2 separate regions of the Homo sapiens genome follow, and region 2 is linked to region 1. The links are contacts of gene promoters, found by promoter capture Hi-C in human tissues and cell types (Jung and others, 2019). All regions are on one chromosome and are shown on one strand. The core of a region is centred on a gene start or on the middle of the fragment in contact, and the rest is flanking DNA. Distances in the headings are between cores, read along the strand shown. Region 1 holds the start of KRTAP5-10 (keratin associated protein 5-10). Region 2 overlaps SHANK2 (SH3 and multiple ankyrin repeat domains 2).

Evidence for each region. The method cuts DNA at HindIII sites, captures the fragments that hold promoters and counts their contacts. A contact is called where the count stands out against the background at its distance.
Region 2: a fragment that was not itself captured here is called in contact with the fragment with the promoter of KRTAP5-10 in region 1 in 2 of the 25 tissues and cell types used here (IMR-90 fibroblasts and mesendoderm cells).

What each region holds. Positions count from the first base shown.
Region 1 is chr11:71,563,767-71,567,615 of GRCh38, reverse strand. KRTAP5-10 (keratin associated protein 5-10) reads right to left here and starts at 2,053. Exons shown (of 1, transcript NM_001012710.2): 1 at 881-2,053. The coding sequence starts at 2,028. The coding sequence ends at 1,420. RefSeq lists an enhancer at 851-1,666. The HindIII fragment of the contact is 12,390 bases long and covers 1-3,849 here.
Region 2 is chr11:71,120,776-71,124,624 of GRCh38, reverse strand. The region is part of intron 3 of SHANK2 (SH3 and multiple ankyrin repeat domains 2); the gene reads left to right. Among named protein-coding and RNA genes, the nearest start is that of SHANK2, 130 kb to the left of the region's middle. The HindIII fragment of the contact is 5,106 bases long and covers 1-3,849 here.

The DNA of each region.
Region 1 (3,849 bases), core at 804-3,303:
CTAGATTATTTCATTTTTCCTTACATTGCATCTCTTTTCTCTCAGAAATTTGTCTTGGAAATTCCCACTCTGCTCTTCCCCGGCAGTATCAGCAGTCGCTTAGATCTGTGAGTGTTCTGTGGGAGCTCATTTCTCACCAGCACTCCCTGTGTGCTGTCTTCCCTCCACCTTTTCCCTCCGGGTTCGCTTGGCTGGAGATTGTCCTCAGATCACTCTTGTCTCCTCCTCCCCAGTGCGTGATTTCTAAAGCCTTGCCTGTGACACTGGTCAGAGAACAGGCTCAGCGTGGTGGCATGTCACCATGAAACAGATGGACTTGGCTCAGGGTCCCCAAATGTGTCACTTCCCAGGAACTCTCCTTTCCTGCCGGGAGACTGAGCTCCGAGGACACCTTGGGCCATTCTGTAACTTCCTGGTTACCTTTAGTTATGGAAAGCCGTTGACCTCATAATTGTAAAAGGCTAATTGAATGTTTGAATCAGAGTGCGTTGGAGCTCAGCGGTGCTTCACTCCTCCCTCCTCCGACCTTGCCCTGCCTGGGGTCCTTCCGAGGCCCCAGAGGAGAGCGGGAAGCTGGAAGCCATGGGTCTTGTGCAAAGCCCTGCTTGGCTGGTCGTCAGGACTCAGGGCCTGCCTGCCCCTCTGCGCCTCTAGGGCGGGCATTGAATGCTGAATCCTCCCGGGCTTTGCCCTCTTCTCCTGCGAGCAGAGACTGAAGATATTTGAGGCTGAGAGGAGGACAGAAGGGAATGGCAGGTTTTTTTGTGAATGTACCAGGCCTGCTGGCAGGCGTTTCCCAGCTTAGCTGACAGATCAGAACGCAGAATCAGTCACTGCACAGGAAAGGGGTTGGACAGAATTGCACCAAGCATGCAGCTGATTTACAGACATGAGAGGCTTTATTGTAAGGAAATTCATTCATTACTTTGTTATTGTTTTTAAATAGATGGAGACAACAGGAAGGAAGGAGACCTTCCTGGTCACAGGTGGCCACTGGAGAACAGGCAGCGAGCGGCCCTGGAGGATCCAGGGTCCCAATGGTGGTTGAGAAGCTGGTTCTTAGTGATCACTGAGCAACATTGGCCTGGCCTTGTGGGGTCAGACCTTGCATCTCAGTCAGCCGAGGGAGAAGAAGAAGATGGTCCACACCCAAGTGCAGGGAACACCATGGCAGTTGGCTGGGTGCCCGCGTCCAGGCAAGGCCACCTCCTGCATCAAGGAAACATGCATTTCCGGAGTGAGGAGGCTGAAGGCAGGGCCCAGTGGAGAGCTGAGCCATGGAAGGAGGTGCGTGCATGGATGATGAGCTGGAGAAGGGGCAGGTGCCTCAGGGAGGATGCGTGGGATGAATTAATTCAGGGAAATCATAACAAATGCTTTCACCAAACAGGTGAAACCTGAAGGTCTGGGTTCAGAGCCTCAGATCTTACACTGGCAGCACACGGGGACACAGCAGCTGGACTGACAGCAGCAGGGCTTGCAGCAGCTAGACTGGCAGCACACGGGGACACAGCAGCTGGACTGGCAGCAGCAGGGATTGCAGCAGCTGGACTGGCAGCAGGATCCACAGCCTGAGGAGCAGCAGCAGGGCTTACAGCAATTGCACTGGGAGCAGCCACAAGAACCACAGCCCCCCTTGGAGCCCCCACAGGAACCACAGCCACCTTTGGAGCCCCCACAGGAGCCACAGCCCCCCTTGGAGCCCCCACAAGAACCACAGCCCCCCTTGGAGCCCCCACAGGAGCCACAGCCCCCCTTGGAGCCCCCACAGGAACCACAGCCCCCTTTGGAGCCCCCACAAGAGCCACAGTCCCCCTTGGAGCCCCCACAGGAGCCACAGCTGGAGCAGGAACAGGCTGGCACACAGCAGCACACGGGCTTGCAGCAGCAGACGGGCACACAGCAGCTGGAGCCACAGCCCCCACAGCCAGAGCCATAGCCCCCACAGCCGGAGCCACAGCCCCCACAGCCGGAGCCACAACCCCCACAGCCGGAGCCACAGCCTCCGGAGCAGCCACAGCAGCCCATGATTCTGGTAGATTGAGGGTGGATCAGGTAGAGGAGCAGGTGAGAGGGAGGTGCAGGTGTGGAGCTCCCTGAGCCCGGGCTCTTTATATACCTGTCCAGATGTCAGGCAGGACACAGGGTCCCTTTCTTGTGACTGTTTACATTATTTTTCCAGAGCTCTGTTTTTTTCCTTTTTGCTAGTGACTTCCTCCTGGCTCAGTTGAGCATCTACTTTCTTTGTATGCTAAATTTGTCTTTTTCCCCGTTTGTTTTGGCCCCTATAATTAAAACCTCAACTCCAGGCTGTCTGGTACTTCTTGCAAAGCTCCAGGGTGCTGGTCACCTGCTCTCTGCTGACCACATGTGACCAATGGGCAACAGCCTCTGCCCACATGCTCTCATCTTTCCTGTGTTAACTCCCCCAGTAATATTAATTTTACATTTTCAGATTTCAAAAGTTATCCATGGTCTTTATATTTTACTCATACCAGTCTCAGCTTTCTGGGTGTGTTAGACCATTCTTTGCATTGCTCTAAAGAAATACTTGAGGCTGGGTAATTTATAAAGGAAAGAGGTTAGAATGGCTCATGGTTCTGCAGGCTGCACAAGCATGGCACCCACCTCTGCTCAGCTTCTGGGGAGGCCCTCAGGGAGGTTTTCCTCATGGTGGAAGGCGAAGCAGGAGTAGGCACGCCACATGGTGAGAATGGGAGCAAGGGGTGAGGAGGGGCCACACACTTGCGAACAACCAGATCTGAGTGAACACACTCATCGCCAAGGAGATGGCGCTAAGCCAGTTATGAGGGATCCGCCCCCATGACCTAAACACCTCCTTGCAGGCCCCTCCTTCAACACTGGGGATTACATTTCGACAAGAGATTTGGAGGGGACAGCCCAACTATGTCATTATCCCCCTGACCCCTCAAATCTCATGTCCTTACATCACAAAATAGGATCATCTCTTCTCAACAGTCCTCTCAATGTCTTGACTCATTCCAACATCAAGTCTGAAGTCCCAAGTCCAAGTTCCTTCTACCTATGAACCTGTGAAAATCAAAATACATTATTTACTTACAAGATGCAATGAGGGTAGAAGCATTGGGTAAACATTCCCATTCCAAAAGGGAGAAGTCAGCCCAAAGGAAGGGGCTACGGACCCCATGCATGTCTGAAATCCAGCAGGGCAGCCATTAAATCTTAAAGCTCCAAAATAATGTCCTTGGACTCCCAGTCCCACATCCAGGGTACACTGGAGTGAGGGGTGGACTCCTAAGGCCTTGGGGAACTCCACCCTCGTGACTTTGCAGGGTTCACCCCCTGCAGCTGCTCTCATGGGTTGGAGTTGGGTGCCTGCAGCTTCTCCATGCTCAAGATGCAAGCTGTCAGTTGCTCTACCATTCTGGGGGCTGGAGGATGGTGTCCTCCTTCCCACTGCTCAGTTAAGCAGTGCCCCTGTGGGGATCATTTACACAAGTAAAAGATCCTTCCCCACCCCTCACCCCTGTGGTGATATCTGTGCCCTTGTTCTTCACAGGGCACCCCAGTGGGGTGTGTCCCATGCACCCGCTTCCAGCCACCCTCCTCTTTCTAGCTCACTTTCTCCAGTGCTTTCATTCCACCAGAACTCTTGGTGCATTGATACAACCACGGCTTCACTGATCCCCAACCTCTCTGATACCTCTTCTTGTTTTGTTAACAGCTTTATTGACATATCGTTCATATACCACACAATTCTCCCATTTAAGGTATACAATTCAATGCTTTTAGTATATTCACAGAGCCGTGTACCTATCACCATAATCAGTTGTAGAAAATTTCATAACCTCATGCCCTTTAGTACCC
Region 2 (3,849 bases), core at 391-2,890, 440 kb after region 1:
GACCTTGGGGTAGTTACTTGGAGTCTCTGAGGCTCAGCTTCTTTATCTAGAGAATGAGAATAATATTATTATATAAACAGTAATAATAATATTATACAAAAAGTAATAATAATATCCACTTAGGGTTGTGGTGAAGGTGATAAGGTTAGCGTAATTTCTGGCTTATTAGGATTCAATACATGGTAATCATCACTGTGTCATGGTTATCATTATCACTGTCATCACCATCATCTTCATCATCACCACTACTGTCATCATTGCAGTGACCACTGTCATCATCACCATCATCATCCTCATTATGATCACCATCACTATCATCATGATTGTCACCATCACCATCATCATCACTACCATCCCCTTCACCAACATCATCACCATTATCACTATCATCATACCATCATTGTCACCATCATCATCACCACCATCATCACCATCACCATCATCACCATCACCATCATCGCTATCATAATACCATCATCACCATTATCACCATCAATCACCATCACCATCATCACCATCATGATCACTATCATCGCCATTACCAACATCTCCATCATCACCATTATCACCACCATCACTGCCACCACTACCACCACCATCATCACCATTACAACCACCCTCATCATCAGCATCACCACCATCATCATCATCCCCTCCCTGTAGACACTGAACTCTTTAAGGGGCAAGAGCACATCTTGGTCATCTTCGTGTCCTCTCACCCACTCCTGTCCTGGTGCTGGTATAGGACCCTGTGCACAGAAGATAGAAGCTCAAGGAGAAGAGAGTTGTTTCCTCCAGTAATCCTTTAGAGGAGTTGGCCAGGGTTGGGACTTCCTATACACTGTTGTCTTTGCCATCCTTTCTGTACTATCTGTGAGTCATCTAACAAATCACTCACTCACTCAGAACATCTCTAACAAATTATAAAGGAATAGCCACCTCGCAGGGCTGTGGGGAGACCAGAATCAGATACTGTTCTCCTCAAGGAGAACTTGACATGACCAAGGCTCACACTGGTAACAGTGGGACCAGGAAGGGTCACTTAAGGCAGAAACTGTCTTGGGCCATCCACCTGCTAGACTCATCGCTGTTCTACCTTTGCCTCCCTCCCTCTCCTTATGATGGGCCCTCAACCTGGAAGTCCTACCCCAGACTCGCATATCCCTCTGTATTCCTGGGCAGCAGCCTATGATGTGTGCTCCTTACCAAGCAGCGTCACTTACTCCTTCCTCTGGGTCCCCAAGGGAGCTCGTGTTAGCATGGATTTTTACCTTTTCCATATTGTGTGACAGTTGAGTAGGTGTTTTTCCCCACTACAAATGGTGACCTCAGGCTGGTTTGCTTCTTATTTATTGTCTTTGTGGCTCCCACATCATTCAGCCAGTGTCAGTCACCTGTACTGTGTCAGGCCTGCTCTTGGACCTGGGGTTTGCCTGATTGGACAGTGAGTCAATGATGGGTAGGTGAAGAATTGAAGTAGGATTCATCCAAAGTGTCTTCTGACGTCGTGGGCTTGCCGGGAGCTGGTGTGAACACGTGGGTGGCTCCCATCACGTATGGAGGGAGGGGAGCTCCCTGGGAGCTGGGAATGCTCGACCTGCTGAGTTCCGCTCTCAGAGATGATGATGCTGCTGTTTTTTTGCTGCCACAATTAGTGGCAGGTGATTCACACGTTTATGAGTTCCCATGCCTGCCATAACCAACCACAGACTGGTGCCTTAAATCCCAGACACGTATTGTCTCAAATTCTGGAGGCTGGAAGTCCAAGGTCAAGGGGTAGGCAAGGTTGGTTCCTTCTGAGGCTTGAGGGGGAATCTGTCCCAGATTCTCTACCTCTACCCCAGCTTCTGGGGGCTTACCAGAAATCTTAGCATTGCTGGGTTTGCAGATGGGACACACCAGTCTCTGCCTTCCCATTCACGTGGTCGTCTCCCCGTGTGCATGATGCCGTGTCCAGATTTTCTCACTTTTTTTTAAAATTATACTTTAAGTTCTAGGGTACATGTGCACAATGTGCAGGTTTGTTACATATGTATACATGTGCCTTGTTGGTTTGCTGTACCCATTAACTCGTCATTTACATTAGGTATTTCTCGTAATGCTTTCCCTCCCCCAACCCTCCACACTAAGACAGGCCCCCATGTGTGATGTTCCCCTGCCCTGTGTCCAAGTGTTCTCATTGTTCAATTCCCACCTATGAGTGAGAACATGCAGTGTTTGGTTTTCTGTCCTTGCGATAGTTTGCTCAGAATGATGGTTTCCAGCTTCATCCATGTCACTTCAAAGGACATGAACTCATTCTTTTTTATGGCTGCATAGTATTCCATGGTGTATATGTGCCACATTTTCTTAATCCAGTCTATCATTGATGGACATTTGGGTTGGTTCCAAGTCTTTGCTATTGTGAATAGTGCCGCAGTAAACATACGTGTGCATGTGTCTTTATGGTGGCATGATTTATAATCCTTTGGGTATATACCCAGTAATGGGATCACTGGGTCAAATGGTATTGCTAGTTCTAGATCCTTGAGGAATTGCCACACTGTCTTCCACAACAGTTGAACTAGTGTACACTCCTACCAACAGTGTAAAAGCATTCCTATTTCTCCACATCCTCTCCAGCACCTGTTGTTTCCTGACTTTTTAATGATCGCCATTCTAACTGGTGTGAGATGGTATCTCATTGTGGTTTTGATTTGCATTTCTCTGATGACCAGTGATGATGAGCATTTTTTCATGTGTCTGTTGGCTGCATAAATGTCTTCTTTTGAAAAGTGTCTGTTCATATCCTTTGCCCACTTTTTGATGGGGTTGTTTGATTTTTTCTTATAAATTTGTTTAAGTTCTTTGCAGAAGAAACTGAATGCCTTCCTTACACCTTATACAAAAATTAATTCACGATGGATTAAAGACTTAAATGTTAGACCTAAAACCATAAAAACACTAGAAGAAAACCTAGGTAGTACCATTCAGGACATAGGCATGGGCAAGGACTTCATGACTAAAACACCAAAAACAATGGCAACAAAAGCTAAAATAGACAAGTGGGATCTAATTAAACTCAAGAGCTTCTGCACAGCAAAAGAAACTACCATCAGAGTGAACAGGCAATCTACAGAATGGGAGAAAATTTTTGCAATCTGTCCATCTGACAAAGGGCTAATATCCAGATTTACTCCCTTTTTAAGGACACAGTTATTGCATTAGGGTCCACCCTGCTCCTGTATGACATCATCTTAACTTGATTACGTCTGCAAAGATCCTATTCCCAAATAAATCACATTCATAGGGTATGGGCATTAGGACTTCAACATTTATTTAGAGGGGCACAGTTCAGCCCATAACAACATGTCTTATTTATATTCTGTTTGATCCTGACAGCAGCCCTGAAGTTAAGTAGTGGCTCTGATTTTCATGGGGGAATCAGAGGACTGCTGGGTGGGTGGGTTTCCCTAGGAATCAAGGTTGGTGTGCCCCACTGGGTTGCAAACCCAGGCTTTCCGACCTTTGAGCTCTTGCTCCTTCTAGATGATTCTCAAGGTGGTGCTCTTAGCATTTTCTGGAGCAGATGGTTCTTGCTTTGTGGGGTTGGCCCCCGTGCTGCACAGACACAGCATCCCCACCCTGTCCACAAATGACGGTGGACACCTATCTTTGCAATCACCTGCAGTGGCACAGAAGTCCCCTGAGAGGCAGTTTGGAGCCCTGTGCTCCTCCAAGGAATTGCCCCTTGGCTGAAGCTTCTCTGCAGGTGTCAGGGAGGGAGCCATGGGCTCTGTGGATGTTGGAGCTTGAATTGGAGGGGCCTAGAAGGATTCCTGCAACTGAAGGGTGAGTAGTGAGCGGCCC